Regions from separate parts of the Homo sapiens genome. Here regions 1, 2 and 4 are each linked to region 3. Evidence: promoter capture Hi-C in human tissues and cell types (Jung and others, 2019). All regions are on one chromosome and are shown on one strand. Each heading gives the region's core, a stretch centred on a gene start or on the middle of the fragment in contact. The rest is flanking DNA. Distances are from core to core; before and after follow the strand shown. Region 1 has its middle 30 kb from the start of SPAG16-DT. Region 2 has its middle 55 kb from the start of LINC01953. Region 3 holds the start of ABCA12 (ATP binding cassette subfamily A member 12). Region 4 overlaps SPAG16 (sperm associated antigen 16).

The links. Contacts are between HindIII fragments. The study calls those that stand out against the background at their distance.
Region 1: a contact is called between a fragment that was not itself captured here and the fragment with the promoter of ABCA12 in region 3, in 1 of the 25 tissues and cell types used here (lymphoblastoid cells).
Region 2: a contact is called between a fragment that was not itself captured here and the fragment with the promoter of ABCA12 in region 3, in 1 of the 25 tissues and cell types used here (lymphoblastoid cells).
Region 4: a contact is called between a fragment that was not itself captured here and the fragment with the promoter of ABCA12 in region 3, in 1 of the 25 tissues and cell types used here (H1 embryonic stem cells).

What each region holds. Positions count from the first base shown.
Region 1 is chr2:213,251,999-213,256,538 of GRCh38, forward strand. No RefSeq gene overlaps it. Among named protein-coding and RNA genes, the nearest start is that of SPAG16-DT, 30 kb to the right of the region's middle. The HindIII fragment of the contact is 4,005 bases long and covers 159-4,163 here.
Region 2 is chr2:213,220,680-213,224,974 of GRCh38, forward strand. No RefSeq gene overlaps it. Among named protein-coding and RNA genes, the nearest start is that of LINC01953, 55 kb to the left of the region's middle. The HindIII fragment of the contact is 4,523 bases long and covers 631-4,295 here.
Region 3 is chr2:215,136,459-215,140,708 of GRCh38, forward strand. It overlaps ABCA12 (ATP binding cassette subfamily A member 12), which reads right to left and starts at 2,168. Exons shown (of 53, transcript NM_173076.3): 1 at 1,682-2,168. The coding sequence starts at 1,750. The HindIII fragment of the contact is 12,690 bases long and covers 1-4,250 here.
Region 4 is chr2:213,788,093-213,792,354 of GRCh38, forward strand. The region is part of intron 10 of SPAG16 (sperm associated antigen 16); the gene reads left to right. Among named protein-coding and RNA genes, the nearest start is that of MIR4438, 32 kb to the left of the region's middle. The HindIII fragment of the contact is 5,751 bases long and covers 1-4,262 here.

The DNA of each region.
Region 1 (4,540 bases), core at 911-3,410, 1.9 Mb before region 3:
GCTGGCACAACAGAACAACATTTTACATAAATGATGCTAAGAAAAATCTATCTCTTCATGGTAAAGATACTAAAACTCTTTACTCACCTTTGATATTTCTTATCCCTCTTTAATAGTATTGCATGTATAACGTAACGGTGATCATGAAAGTTAGAGTCAACTTAATTTTTATGGGGAAGATTATCTGTGTTTACATTTTCTTGCAAATTGTTGAAATTACCTCCCTCAGCTCTTTTTGTCAATCCCAAATCCATTTACTGCTACTTTTTATCCTAAAAAAAGCAAAACAATAATAGCAACAACAACAAAAATTTAGTTCTTTACTTTTCCCTGCAATGAATGGGCTGTTTGTATTGTCCAGCTTAATACCAAGTCAGCCATTAGTGACTAATGGATTAGCAGCTTGAAAAGGTGGATATTATTGACAGGCACAAATGGATTTCTAAGCATTTCTCTAAAACTACTTGCTATTGTTCCTTTCACGGGAGCAATTAGGCATGTCAATCTTCTTTTGCAATTTTTGTTTTTGTTCCAATCAAAAAAATAGGGTTTGCAATTCTAGGATTTTCATTTTGCTTCAATCTTGGGGATCTAGTCTGCCTTTCAAGGATTTTCATAGTTGATTAATGGTGTGAAATAATGCATTGATAGAGGAATTATTTGGAAGCAATTCTAGGGTGATTATCTGTTTTTGTTTTATTTGCTATTGTGCTTTCCTTTAACTCAAAAAAGTGAAAGATAATTATTATATTTGATCTTGTGTACATGTTTGTGATTTTCTTCAACATACTAGGAGTGTCTTTTATCTGTTACAAAGACATTTTTAGTCCAAGTAATTTGGGCATAAAGGGTACACTCTATGATTCCTCTATACATTATATTTAATCCACTACTAGAGCCAAGAAAAAGCCAAATTTAAATAAGTGATTTGAAAATTTTGTATTTAAACTGAAATGGTATAAACAAAGGTGGAACATGTTTACAGGAAGATTAAAAGAGTTCCGACATTGCATTTTGTCTAGGTGCCTGGCATCAGTCAACTCTACTATTCTATAGGTATTGCTATTCTTTGTATTTATGGTTGGTATTAGCGGCAAAATAGCTTGCAGCTGGTGCTGAATGCCTCAGCCTTATTATTAGAGCTATTGAGATAAAATTATCTCTACTTTCTATTTCAAATTGGTTCAAGTCTATCAAGTTCAAGGCTTTGACCTCTTTGTTTTCATTAGAATCCATGTAAGACAAGGAATATTATCTCTGTAGGTGTTTTAGGCGCTTTATACTGTAATTCAAATAGGAGAGGTTCGTGTGTGTACCTTGGAGTGGAGCAACATTCTTATACCTCTTTGTGTCCTGTTCCTGGTATGCTGCCATATACAGGCTAGTATGTCGTTCAGCAAATTATTTGTTAAAGCTTTAAATAGGACAGCTGGCTATATAAGCCTGACAATTTGCTCTTCAAAGTTTAATCTGCCAGGGACTACTCAGTCAGCTTGTCTTTTAAGCAGGGCATTGATTCTCTCTTCCACCTTCTCTAGGGACCAAGACGTTTCCTAAAAATATTATTCTGTTCTACTTGTGCCTTGCTTTGAAAAATACCTGAAGATTCTTGTTGCTGGGTCACATTTATTTTTTAATTTGAGACTTCAGCAAGACAATACAAAAGATTAGCTGAGAAGTACAGAAACCATACATGTGTAGTGTGTGATTTTTACAATCTATAAACTTGAAAATGTGATTTATTTACATTCAGGTGATTTTAGTTATTTCTGAAGTTTCTCTCAAGCATTTGAGGTTTAAACTCAGTTAAGTTCAGGGTTTCATCTTGCTCCCTTCTGTCTGAATTGGATTTTAAATCATGAGGCTGTAGAAAGTTCTGGGGTTGCCTCAGGTTACCCAACTGTGACCTGCATCTCATGCTGCCATCTCTATTCTCCAGCTCCATTGCACTCTGGCACTAGGATCACATGCGAGGCAACTGCTTCTAGGAGTTCCAGATGTGCAGTGGGCCATTCTTTTTTCGTCTTGGATCAGCACTCTTATGTAGCGGTCTACTACTTTTCTCTCTACCTTCCTTGCTCCATCACCCACTTGACCTAAAGGAGAACAAGACCCAAGTCTTCCCATACCAGGGTGACATTCTGTCAATGTTGACTCCGTAGGTTCTCTTCTTCCACTCCTCTTGGAAGCTCTTACCTGATCTAAGAGGAAGGTGAAAAGCAAAGCAAAGCAAAACAAAGCAAACACCTTCCGCCATAGGCACTCTTCTACATAGTTTCTCTCCTTCAGACATTGATTGTTAGCCTTCTAGGGTAACATACTTGTGTGGAAGTATGAGATGGGAAGGAGGCACTTCAACTAATGCCTCTCATACCATCCCAGTATTTTTTTTGTTTTTTGTTTGTTTGTTTGTTTTTTGCTTTTTTATTTTGAGATGGAGTCTTGCTGTGTCACCAGGCTAGAGTGCAGTGGCACGATCTTGGCTCACTGCAACCTCCGCCTCCTGGGTTCAAGTGATTCCCCTACCTCAGCCTCCCAAGTAGCTGGGACTACAAGCACATGCCACCATGCCCCGCTAATTTTGTACATTTTAGTAGAGACAGGGTTTCACCATTTGTCCAGGATGGTCTCGATCTCCTGACCTCGTGATCCGCCTGCCTCTGCCTCCCAAAGTGTTGGGATTACAGGCCTGAGCCACCACGCCCGGCCCATCCCAGTTTTAACACAGTATAATGAACTCTATAAGGAACGAGTACTGGGGACTTTTGAAATCTTTGTAATACCTCTATAAAGGATTATTAGCTCCTGTTTCCAAGTGGACTTAGAAAGACAAAGATGTAGCAACAGCATATTACAGAGCAGCATGATGCCAGTGTAAATTCAATGTTACCTATCAGTCTTCTCTTACTGGGATATTAGTCAAAATTTCAGGCAGAAATGTTAGGAAAATAGATTTGCTAATTCTGGTTTCGTTGTCTCCTGCCATCATACCTGTTCTCAATCATCTGCTCCTGCAATTAGGGATAATCTACATCTAATTTTTTTATTTATTCCAGTTCATGTCAGAATGGTTATATCCTGTATCAGCACTGATATCTTCTGTCTGGCGTTCTCAGTACACAGACCAAGGGTTCTCAATCTTGGAGCTATTGACACTTTAGATCAGATGATTCTTGGTCGTGCAGGACTGTCTTGCGTATTTTAGCAACATCTCTGACCTCTGCCTCCTAGAGGCCAGTAGTACTTTCTCCAATCCGGCCAACCAAACACGTCTCCAGACATTGTCCAATGTCTCCTGGAGGGCAAAATCACCCACCTCCCATTAAGAAATACTGCATAGGATTTTTATCTGTAATTTCACTGCTCCAGTATTATTTCTATTCTTTACTTGAGAATCCAGTTTTGTAGGACTTCAAATTTGTATCATTCTGGGTACTGTCAGACAAAAAGAAAAAATTATGATAATAAAACTGAGCATAAAATTTAATAATTATTTTGAATGATAAAAAAGAAATTACAATAAATAACAAATTTTGAAAAGCTGACAAACACAACTATCACGAAATTCAGAAAAAATACAATTTTTTAAAATTCAGCTGTTTATAACACACCTATGGCCTACATTTTCAGCTGCCTATTTTTTCAATAAAAATGTTATTTTGTATGTTTAAAAAACATTTATATGATTTTTTAAAATAACTTTTTTGTGTATGTGATGAATTTTTAATATTTTCAAAACAGAGGGAATAGGTGATTTATAGTTACCTATTATAGTGTTTATAATAGTAAATGTTGCATTATCGAGTTTATTCATAACAGGAGAATATTTCTGTTTTCACTTGTCAACTATGAAAATAAAATTCTTTGCTCACAGTTTTACAGGCTTGATATTTGGAAGAATTTTCTATGGGCTAGCTTCTGGGTCCACACATTTCAAACCATTTTCATCTTCCACTCCACACATTCTTTTGGTTCTCAGCACCATAGGACATATTCATATAGAAATTCAACCTGTACCTTTTCACATTGCTGGCACAATCCTGGGTAAGTCACCAAGGGAATGGAGTGGGCATAGGACACCAAAAATGCTGGTGACCACCTTAATATCCCATTATACAAGATAGAACTGTCATGAGAGGACATTAGAATGGACAGAGACATCTTAATTGACAGTAAAACATCATATTTTTTGCAAAATTTTCAAACCTTTATTTCAGTACAAATACATTCCTAGGTATCATCTAGGGCCATGGAAGTGACGTGTAAATGAGGAACCCTGAAACATTAACACTAATGATTTAAAGCAAACACGTTTAACCATAGCTGCTGCTACGGGGGAAACAATGGGGGAGATAGAGGATAAGAGAATACCTAGGCAGGATATTTATATTGGGTTACAGGAAACAAGCAGGGAATTATGGGTTCTTATTTTCTAAAAAATGGGAGGGAAAATTTCCTAGCATTAGTCAACAAAGAAGTTTTATTTTCTACCTTAAAGTTAATAAACCCCCCCGTCAAAAACTTACATAGAAAAACAGTA
Region 2 (4,295 bases), core at 1,642-4,141, 1.9 Mb before region 3:
TACTCTGAGCACATAACTCCTTGGAATAATGCCTTCTTTTTGAAACTTGCCATGTATTTAGGGATGGCTATATGTTAGTCATGGACAGTGATTTGCTGGAGCTGGCTTGGCTGGGAGAGTCACTTGTGCACATCTCTCTCCATCACTGTTCAGTGAAGTTGAGTTGGTAGCTTGAAATCAGCCATAGCAGGTATATTTACACAATGAAGATTGGAGGCCTATTTGTCAAATGTTTCCAGCACACTATTGGTTCTGCACAATGAACCAATTGGAAAGTGTTATCCTCTTTAAAAACAAACAAACAAACAAAAAACATCTTGCATGAGTCCCTTGCATCTTCTCCCCTGCATCTTCCTCCACACCTGCTGCTTGGAATGGGGAGGTGATGGATGCTGCTAAAGCAGCGTTCTTATGCCATGAAGCTGAGAGATGACTGGGTTCTTCATGACTTAAAAGAACTGTAGTACCTGTTGACTGCCACATGATGCTGATACTACTGGTCCGTGAACCCTACATTGAGAATGACTGTTACTTTGGGTTTTTTGTTACATGCAGTTGAATCAAATCCTAACTGATAGTGTTAGGAGATTCTGGTGAACTAGAAAAAAAAGACCTCATCTGAAGGCATTCATATTCAAGTTTTTAAAATACTGAGCTGGCCAACGATGTATATCTCCTGACTTTATTAAGCAGTAGAACAGAGAGGAAGGAAGGAATTGCAACCTTGGTGCCAACCTATGGTGGCACTCTACTGCTAGACATTGATGTCCCAGGACCTCACCCCACCTGCAGGATGCACATAGAAGGAATAAAGGAGAAGAAAATAATGAGTAAATAAATGGAAAGTGATAAAGGGGTAGGTATTAGGAAAATAAGATTACATTGTGACCAGTATGTAGATTAAAGCAGACAGTCAGTGCACTGCCATAGCTTGCTTGAATTTTTTACATTCCCAGGCTCTCTGTCTCCACGTGTGTTTTTATTCTCACATTGACAGCACTGTGTCTTTTTATTGCAGGGATGGCCCCTGACTGCCGGAATCTACTTTTTTCCACTGTGGTAGAAGTATTTGGGGACTTATATCCTTCCAGGAGTAGTTCTTATCCAATCACTGATAGGTTCAGGGGTTTAAATATTTCAGCCATTGTGGCTTGATCAGGATAAGTCTGAGGTGTGATCCACACTGTTTAGAGATATCCTCTATGGGACAGAGACAAAGTTACCCTCCATGAAACTTTGCTTTATAATATACCCCTCCTTAGCCTTCTTACCTTACTAGTCCTATTTCCTTGCTACACACCCCATGCCCCTGATTTTCCTGGGAAAATTTTCTATTAATCGTGTTCACATGAGTCATCTTCCGAGAGTCTGTTTCTGGGGAATACAACTTAAGGCAGAGATATAACAATAAGAATTTTAATCTTCTTCCCAGAAAGCAATGGGAAGAATAAAGGGAAGATCAGTCATCCTGTTCTATCTTCTTAAATTTGAGCTTTCTCCACTGACATGTCTCAGATGTGCTTGGGAGGAAAATCAACTCATTTTGGACATCCAGATTCATTCAGGAAATTGGCAATATATATCTGGACTACAGGAAAGAGGTCAGAGCCAGAGATATATTAAATTAAAACAAGCTGGGTTGTAAACTCATAGTGTATGAGAGTTATGCTGATTTACTTTTCTATGAACTACTTGCCCATCCTCACCTAATTTTAAAATTCAGTACAGCTGTGATTTTCATCAAATGTTTATGATCCTATTATAGGATATATTTTTAGCCTTAATAAAAGGAAGTTGATAAAGCTTCATTATCTGTCGTTTCAGAGGAAGAGTAAAAAATCCAACATCTACCAAGTAAGTCTATAATATGTCATCGTAAATCTTCTATTTCCCAAGCCTTTGTCTCTCTCTGACATCAAAGATAAATGACTATTACTAGAATTAATATCTCTTAAATATATCATGATTCTTCAACATTATTACCAAAAGGCTGTTATGAAAACTTCACTAAAATAGAATTTGATTTTCTTTCTATGAACTGTAAGGGTGACTGATTTTTTAGTACTTGTAGTGGAAATGTCTCCCATATTAACTCAGCAGGTTTTCTTAGAATAATAAAATTATTTTATATGTGAGAAAGGAAATTGTAAAATACAGTGGCAAAATTATTCTAGTTTTTTAATCTTCGGAAAGTATGATCATTTAAATCACTTTGATAGAAGAGTTAGTGTCACTTCCAGGCTCTGGATCTTGCTTTAAAATAACATGAGCTTGGGAGCAAAATAATACAACTTATTTGACCTAGGGAGAGCTCTTAAGAAACTTCCTCGAGATCTTTGAAGTACTCCTATTTCTTGTACCAGAGGCAAAAGATAAGTTTAGTTTAAGTTTCTTTGTACTATTGTGAATTACAAACATCATTTCTCTAGAAATGTGTGTGCATGTGAAAGCTCCTATAATAGTTGCTATGGAACTAATTTCTGACATTAACATCATTAAGGCTTATTTTGGATTGGAAGGAAATGCATCTGTAAGACCTCGAAAACTGCTTCCATAATTTGGAGTTGAGGAAGACAAAAATTGGAGAGTGGCAAAAAATGAAAGAAAATATTTGCAAGGGTCAGTTACCCATGACGATTTTACATGTTTTAGTGATGATAGTATCAGAAAAGCAAATATTTTATAGGATTGTTTCCTATGTCAGCATCAATTAAAAGATCTTTCAACTTCCGGAATTATGATGTTTTCATTTTATTTTTTATTCTATTTTATTTTTGAGACAGTCTCTCTCTGTCGCCTAGGCTGGAGTGCGGTATTGCCATCTCAGCTCACTGCAAGCTCCGCCTCCCAGGTTCACGCCATTCTCCTGCCTCAGCCTCCCGAGTAGCTAGGACTACAGACGCCCACCACCACGTCCGGCTAATTTTTTTTTTTTTTTTTTTTTTTTTTTTTTTGTATTTTTAGTGGAGACGGGGTTTCATCGTGTTAGCCAGGATGATCTCAATCTCCTGACCTCGTGATCTGCCTGCCTCGGCCTCCCAAAGATTATATAGCAGTTTGGTTACATAGCCAGAGCCAAACAATACTGACCCACTTTAAATTTTAGAAATTATCTTATTTATTTTCGGGTGTGCTCTAGTGTAGGCAAAACTGTAATATAATTTAAAAATGTACATTTATCCTATGTGCCTGAGGCAGTTGGGGTTTTTATGCTTTCTCTACTCTTTCTCACTATCAACAGCTTATCTCTGACAATGAGGACATCAATTTACACTAAGATGAGAGTCATTGGCTATGGAGAAGCTAATATTCAAATGTAAAGTCATGCAAACTGTCTACCAATCCTTTCCTTGACTTGATTTTTTTGTTTCTCTCCTTATATTTCCTTTTGTTCTGATCTTCCTACTTAACTTTTTAACCTAATCTTTTTCCTTTTATTTTAGAAGCTGTCCCAAATTTATTTTCAGATGAAATTGAGGTATGAATAGACACATAAAACTAATACAAATGATCAATTAAGACTGTGCAACAATTAGCATCATGTCATTTTCATAGATAAGAATGCTGTAGAACAGGGAGGATAAGTGACTTTCCTCAATTTATTAGCACTTTTTTAAGTTACAATTTAGGCCCTAGAGCTCAAGCACTTCTAGTTTGGAAATATTATTCTCAGTGGAACTCCCGACTTTTCTGAGGATGGCTGTGAAGCCAGGTTGCTTGTTGTGACCAGAACACTAAATGTGTTAATCCTGTATTTGAAAAAGTAAACTATTCACTTTTTGAAACATAACCCTTCCCAATTTTGTAATCATAGGTCTTAAATGTAGGTGAGTCGCTTTAGTCAGCTACCAGTCTCTTACTTACAAAGGATAAGCCTTTAGTGGAACAGGAGGAGGAGGTGAATCCTACATATCATGTGACCTACAAGGAGGAGAAGCTTGGTAGAGAGGTTGACTACTATTACAAAACACACACACACACACAGACACACACACACACAGAGAATAAAAGCTGAAAAGAAATGCGCTCCTTTGTGTTGAGATCATTACTTCTCCATTATATCATTGTCACACCACCCCACAAGCCCTTGTCTGCAAACTTGTATTCTCATAAATGAAGTATATAATGTTCAATGAAATTCAGTTTCCACATTACCTTTGAATTTTATTTTTAATATGAAGATCAGATGTATGAAAGGATATGAGTTTGGTTATAATTAAAGCTAAATCACATTTGAAACTTCTGAGTTTTTCCACAATTTTTAATTTTCTCAGACTTCCTGCATATCCAGTTTG
Region 3 (4,250 bases), core at 918-3,417:
TTTTTTTTTCCTATAACTTTTTTTACACAAAATAGAGTTGTAAAAGAAACAGACCTCAGCATTCAGATTATTGACAATAACACGTACAGATTTTAGTTCCTCTGTGTTTTTGTTTTTAGCTATTGAATTTTTATCACTTACAAACTTGACTGTACGTGGATTTCTTCCTTTTACCCACAGTATCTTCTCCTGAATTTCCTTTCATTATTAATCTGCATAAAATATGACACACATTGCCTCAAATCCCTCACTAATCTATTTGCTAAGTGTGTCAGTATTATAAAGCACTTTGAAATACATTAGCACATTTGGTACTTCCCCCAATGAGTTAGATGTGGCAGGCTTCATGCCACATCTAACTAATCATGTCACGTCTAACTCATCATGCCACATCATGGTGGGAAAAACAGTGCTTAGAGAAACTGTCTTAAGCTACTTAAGTTACATGAGGAGCAGTGGCAGGGGCCCCAACTCGCATGCTCTGACCACATGACCACATCCACACACCCAGGATCCTTTCCCTGCTTATGCCACACAGAATCAACCACATGATAATTATGGGGAGGTTTTCTTCTGTGCTTTTTTTTTTCCAGTTAAAAAACAAATAAAAACATGAATGAGTTTATAATTTTATATTCAAACCCCACACCCATGCAATCACATGCCTTAGAATTTTAAAACCCTACCCACAAAATTCACAAGGGTAAATGAACATCTACTTCCTCCTCTTACTACACACATCAAAACACTCAAGTAAAGTGTCAGGCAATCCAAGCAAGCCTGGAGCGAGATAAGGTGCATAGATAAAGTGCTGGTTTCTGTGTGATGCATATTATTTGCATAATATTTACATTACTCATTCAAGGCTGGGAATTACCACTTTAAAATAAAGTATATTGAATACCTTTTTGGATTTCCCCGATTTTCAAACATTCTTCTGAATATATAACAACTCCCAGAAACCAATTCCTTTCTCAATCATCCTGGGAGCCATCTGATGAGGATCTAATAGCTAACTTTGTAATTAGAACGCAAACATTAATGTAAGAGTACAAAAAAGACGTTGCAATGAGCAAGAGAAGATAGATTGTAGTAGTAAAGCTAAGTGATTCAATAATATTCTTAAAACATAGCACATATACATACTCTTGTTTGGTATTCCCAGTAAATGATTTTTAGATACTAAAATTTCTCAGTAGCTTTTCTATACTAATAGCCTTCAAACTATTTCTGTTCTGTATTTTACCTTTCAACCAAACTTTCTATGGCTTTCAGTTTTCCAGTATATTTCTTCCCATTTATTGTACATTTCAAATAATACTTTTCTTTCCTCTATCCCATTTTTAACTACATTAAGAAAAATTCTGAAAGCCTTTTGGCTTGAAACCAGAATTCAACGTTCCAGTTCAGCCAGTAATGAGTCATGTTCTTTTTTTTTTGCCCAGGGCATGTCCTGGTTTACTCTTTAATTTACTGAAATGAAAAGGCTGCTTTTGGGGGCATGTTAAGACTCGCTCCATTAGCTATAAGACAGATAGGGGGATGAATTCTAAATATCTTACTTCCTGCTTTGGAAAATGCCTTTAAACTCTTCTGTTTTCACTTCTCATTAAGATCACATTTTAGGATTACCTGGCGTATTGCCCCATGACCCATACTCCCACACTTTTTTTTAACTCACCGGCTGCCTTTTTACACCTAGCCAATTTTTCCAGACCAGGATCTGAAGCTGATGAAACAGGGAAGCCATCCTTCAAATGCCCCAAATGAGAGATTTCCTCTTCTTTTCTCCACTCCACAAATGAAGAACTGATGCCCCGTCCAACTTGCTGTATGTCAGTGTATCAGTACCCCTTTCACGGCATAGCTTCCTTGAGGGCTGGGGTAAGAAACCCACAGTTCTTCTGTTTCTGCTGGATTTTTCCCTGTGGTTAATCCTTAACCAAGAGGCACTTCTCAATCAACTCTTCTTCCAAAAGAAGGACCCAGATCAGTATCTTTGGGTGGCTTATGCTTATTTTAAAATAATATCCAGTTGCTGCTTGTTGCACGAAGTCCAGACTCAAGAGAGAATGAGCATCATTCAGATAATGCCTCACTGAAAAAAAAAAAAAAGCAGCAGCTGAACCCACACCTCCTACTCTCCATGAAATTAATTGCCTATCCACACCTTAGAGAACATGTCACCTGCACTGGATGCGTCACAGGGACTAGGGGGTGGGACCTTTGCAAGGCCAGTAGGACTTGTCCTACATTCTCTTGTCTTCTTTCCTGCACACAGTGTCTGCTCTAGCAGAGGCAGGGCACAGAGAGCATTTCACAGACACTGGGCCCAGTGACTCTTTAATATTAAAGTGTCATTAAAATGATTTAAGTCAATAAGGCCAGAGCTTAGCTGCAAAGCTCTGAGCCTCAGCCCATCATTAGATATACTAGGGAAAGTGTCCACCTTTAACCTAAAGTTGAATGTTTCGATTTTGGGGGAAGAAACTATGTTGGCCAGGTCCCACCTTTCATCACAATGTACTAGGTTAAGCACAGGGCAGAAAAGGAAAGGTAGGCTGTAGGGGACATAAATTACAAACTGGAGTCCCTCAATTCGTGAGTGGAGATTCACGTGTCTATTACAGACAAGCCACATTGTTTCAGGCTCTTATAGTGAAAGGGGACACAGGCTGATCCAAGACATTTCTATTTCCTCTTTCCATGATACATTCCTCCCTCTCTAAGATCCTGCCTTTCAAAGTTATCCCCAAGTTGACATCTTCAATGAAGCCTTTTTGGATATATCCCATAGGATAGATTCTCTTGCCTTTGAATCATTCTTTGTTGCCCTCTCTCAAGGAACTTAAAGTTTTTGCATTATTTTTATTTGTGTATGTCTTATTTTTCCTACAAGATTATAAATTATTTGAGGACATGGACTATTTTATATCACAGTACTTTACATATCATTAGTGTTCAATACTTGCTGCTGAATGTAATTGAATAAACTACTGGAGCCAAGGCTAGTAGGGTGAAGCTCCCCTTTGATCCTCACACCTACCCTGACTAATCCAGACTTTACTTGCAAAATCCGTTAAAGCATTAAGAGTTCTCCCTTCGCCAGGTGCGGTGGCTCATGCCTGTAATCCCAGCAATTTGGGAGGCCGAGACGGGCTGATCACTTGAGGTCAGGAGTTCAAGACCAGCCTCGCAAACATGGTGAAACCCCGTCTCTACTAAAAACACAAAAATTAGCCAGGCATGGTGGTGGGCACCTGTAATCCCAGCTATTTGGGAGGCTGAGGAGGGAGAATCGCTTGAAACCGGGAGGCAGAGGTTGCAGTGAGCTGAGATGGCGCCACTGCACTCCAGCCTGGGCAAAAGAGTGAGATTCCATCCCCCCTCCAAAAAAAGGAATCTAGCACAGGTCCTGCCTCATAGTAAGTAGTCAATTAATTCTATTAATTGGGTAGCAATGTTTGCTAAGGACTTATTGAATCATCCTAGGAGTCCTATTATATAGAAACTGTCATTATTCCCATTTTCAGTGAAAGAAAGTGATATTTAGAAGTGCCATAACTTGCTGGATTTCACCTAGTTAGCAGTGAGGACAGTGGGAACAGCAGAGAAGGAACTCGAACCTCGTTTCTGTACTGTTAATCTCTGTGCTATGTTTTCTCCAGTCCCATGTATTACACTTCACAGGAAGAGCTGAGAAACAAATGAACATCAGGGATTTTCCCTGTTTCTCTAGGCAGGTCTATAAATCACTTGTAGAGATTTTTTTGTAAGTACACGCATGAAAAATTATGGCCAAAATGAGTTCACAAAGAGTAGTTGCTCCAGGAATTCAGGAGAAGGAAGGCTGCTCTTTTAGGCTTCTTCATAGAGCCTCACGGCACTTCCCAGCCTGGCTCTTGCCAGCTTCATCAGTTGTCTCTCCACCTTCAGCCCTCCCTCCTGCCATCTGCTAGAATACTTTAGATGAGGACTGTTCACTTTCAGGCTTTGGTCATGCTGTTCCCTCTGCCCAAAATGAAATTGTGCTCATTCTCAAATGACTGACTCAAGTGTAACTTCCCCTCTGAAGCCTTTTCCAGCACTTCCACCCACCACACCCCCACCCCCGGCTGAATTAATCACCCCTTCATCTGTTTTCCCATAAAGCTTTGTTCGCACAGATAGCCAACTCCCTTATTACCTTCTAGTATAGTCAGTCTGTCTCTCTGTCCATACTCTGAGCCCCTTGAGTACAGGGACCAAGT
Region 4 (4,262 bases), core at 1,066-3,565, 1.3 Mb before region 3:
AGATTTAGGTTTGACTCAGCAGTTTCGATCACTCATTCTAAGAAATTTATTGGATTCCAATCCAAAAATTTAAGTACAAATGTGCTATTGTAATGTTGTTTATCATAGCAACTAAAAATTAAGAGTTAAATAAATTATAATACATTAAGCAGCTGAATTTTATATAGTCAATATAAGTATTTATAGAAGTAAATGGTCATAATAACCTATAAAAAGGAAATAAGCTACACAATCACATTTATACAAATCTCATATGAGTAAGTCATATATACATATGTATATAAATATAAACATTATGAAAACTTATGCTAAGCTATTGGTAATGGTAACCCTGTGATGATGGAATTTTAGGGGTTGTTATTGTTTTTGTGGTAGTGTTTATCTCTACTTCCTTTTCTTTCTGTGCAAGATTCTTTGTTATTTATTTAATTAGAAACACTAAGAAAATTATTTACATAAATTCTATATCTCATAGCCAATATCCACAGTGTTTTTCCTTTTAGGAGACTCATAAATTCTTCCCCTAGAGGAGCCTGATATGCTAAATTTCACAGGAAGGCCTTAGAATAGACTACATCACTGGGACCTTTGGTATAGGCTGACTTAATCCCTCTGTTCAAAACTTGCTTCAAATATTGCCTAGAATATACTCAATTATTAATAAATGCTGAAAGGAATAAGACAACATCTAAACCCATCTCTCAGCTCTTATATTTGTTTTTGTTTGCTTGTTTTATGGATGTGACATTGATGATATACTTGTGTGACGTCTTTATGAGTGATTCTCAAATTATTGTGCAATTTCCATAGGTAGAATCTTTCCATTTATATTAATTCTAAGTAGTATAATTCCTTCTCTCTGTTTTTATAGCATCATTTGCTTTATAAAGATAGATGAAAAACAGGAGTCTGAACGTTTTTCCTGTTTTCTCTGTCACTGAAAGAAGAATGTCAGTATACTTAAAGATAAGCAATTGAATGCAAATAATTTGGAAGAACCATTTTAATCACCATAATTGTACTGAAGCACTTAAAAATGCATGTATGGAATTGAAAAATAGATTAAAAATCCTTTCAATAAGTGTACTCATTTATTTAATTACTTTGAAGTTGGAAGTAAAACCATCCTTTCTGTAGGCTATAGTATTTCACTTTGGGTTAACAACTTAGTAAGATGAACACCATTTTTGACAGTTAGTGTGGGTCTTGATGTTTTATCAGCATTTTAATAAATTTGACTTCAGTCATTTATGTGCTTTATCATTGAGATTTTCCAATATCTTATTCCAATAAGAATGACTAATAGTTATGCTCATTTAAAAAGTAATATTGCAATGCTGAGAATGATCATTGCCTTTATGTTCAGATTTATCTGAGAGTATGTGTGGCATCTTTCCTGAAAAATACACACAAGGTGATTATTTTGTTGGAGACATTGTTTGAAGACCAATTTATGTGTTATCTTTTATTTGAAAAGCAGCTTAAAAAGACAAACCATTCCAGCACAACATTCAACATTTGACAGTTCGGCTCAGTGATAACCTTATTCACTCACACGATGTAATGGTTATTTTTGTTGCAAAGGAACCCTCCCTGGTTTTCTTGTATCTCCATTATACTTTGTCCGTAAGCTCTATGATGCTAGAATTTCCAAATAGATTGATTTTTCAACTAAAATTGAATGTATCTACTTATTCACTTTCAAACCCAAAATATACTCACCTATTTTTGCCTCAAATTCTTTTTAAAGCAGGGAAGTTAAAAATAATTTGTAAATCCCTAATTTCTCCAATTTTCGGTAACGATATCATTATCATCCAATGTATTTTGAGTCAAAACTGTGGTATTATTTTTATTCTTCACTTTTCTAGATCTTTCTTAACCACTTATATTAATTAAAATCTGCCCTTCAAAAATGATCTCTCATCTTTTTTGTCCCCTCAGTATTATTCAACTTGATTATTGCTATTTTAGTTACCTTCTAATTCCACAACATCATCCACTCCCTTGTTCTTTCCCCAGTGGAGTACCTTTGTTCTATGGCCAAAATTATTCTCATAAATTAATCATGAATTTTATTATTAAGCATCACTGATGATTCATCACTGCCTATAAAATAAGATGCAATTTTTTGGCATTCAAGACTCTCCACGATAGTTTCCAAAATTATCTTTTCAGCTCTATAATTTCACTTCTATAAACTTTTAACTCCTCATCTCCAACTCTCAACTCTCAACACTTATTTAGGTTCAAGTCCAGTGGATCATTTATCATTCTCTGAACATTTTCTTTGTAAAGAACTGCCGTCACTAGCTTCAATGTTCTCCATAACTCAGACCGTTATAACCAAAAGCATATTTTTGGTGTAATATTATATCTTTCATGAAGGTTTAATGGATTATTTTTCTTTTTTTTGTTAATTTCTACCTCTTCTGTACTTATATTTTCATTAATATATTTAAAATATTAATATTAGTCTTCTAACAGTTATTATAATATTTGTTTTGGTCTGTTTTATTTTGTGGGTGAAAAACACCAATTATATACAATGTGAGCATACCAGTATTGTGTATATATGTACATATGCATCCTCAAGCATCTATGTGTATGGTCTAAGTGTGTGCATGTGTGTATATGCATAGAGGTAGAATAATGAAGGTAGCTTAAGATGTAAGAGGTAATCTTTGCCTGTATAATGATTTTGTCATGGGCCAATTCTGATTATGTCACATCAGTTGAAGATGCACATCAAGATGTCTGAAATAACTTTCTTCTGCCTGTTCTGACCTTTGTTGTCTCACTTTAACTCATCATCCAGCTGCTGCCTGAGTATTTTGCTTTAATCTATTCTCTACTCAGCTAAATTAGAAATACTATTTTAGATGAAAATAGCACATAAGTATCCACTGAGAAATCCCTGGTGGTTTAATTATCACTGATTTTTTTTAGAAGCAATTTGAAATGGTCTCCAATTGTGGTTAATTTAGCAATGAGTTTTCAGTGGTGTGGACATAGTAATAAGTGTTAAAATATTAAACAAGCCTTCATTTTGATTGCCAAATTTCTTTTAGAGCAAAACTAATATAGAAATCCTTACAGTCAAGGCTTCTTTACAAATCCAAACCTGGAATGTGTGTGTGGGTTTGTTTTTAACCTTGCAGTGAAAAAATAAATTCCTCATTAAAGAAAACTAAAGTTTGAAAAAAAAAACATAAATCCTTTGCATATACCCCTTATTTTTGAATCATGAGGCATTTTTGGTAAAAGTGGAAAGCAAATAATGTCACTTATCTTTAGTATAACTTCTTTTTTTATACAAAGAAAATAGTTTTAAGGAATAAAATGGTACATCAGATTCAACTCCTGACTAGATAATCATAATATTTACGGAAGACTATTTGACAACAGCTTAAAGGATACACAAAATAAGAGCATTAAACCATGTAAAAGGGATTAGACTAGTGTTCTCTCAGCAGTGGTCAGAGTTGCATAAATCTGAAACTTGAATGGGAGAAGAAATGTGTGCATTCTAATCCTAAACATGAAAAATATTCATTCTGAAATCTACGTTAAATACTTCAAATAAAAAAGTATTTATAATATCCATATGGGTTTTCTAAAATATATTCTTCCAAAATATAAGTCAAGCATGGTTAAGACAGGCCCTTATCATTTAATGGAAAGGATTAGGAGTGAGTATAAAAATGTTTTAAGTCACGTTTTGCAAAGTTTATTCTGTGGAAAGTAAGTCCTACAAGGTACTTAATGGAAAAAGGTGTTCATGAATAAATGTTTTAAATATTTTGTACATATTATGTCATCCTGTATTGAAGTTAAAGCATTCATTAACATATTAAAGACTGAGTATTTTGCAACACATTGGAAGCCAACTTTTCTCAAAATTATTTCAGAACAAGATAGCTTCCCAAGCCAAATGTGTCTTTCTTTTTTCTTAAAACACCAAGCCAGTATTCATCGAGACAAATTCTCAGAAATGTTGTTTAAAAGTGTTACCAATTAAAAACAAAACAAAACTTTACAGGTTTGTTTGTTACAGAAAACAGAATTGAAGTAAGAACTACTTTGCAATGGCTCATAGTATTAAGTACATAAAATAAAAGTGCCAAGGAATCCCATAGCTTTTGCTGACGGAAGCAAATCGCACTCACTGTACTGACTGTGCAATATTCCATTTGACTTCATTGAAGTTCTGTTTTCTCATAAAGGAGCAACAGTTGTGCCTCCCTCAGTGTGTTGAAAGG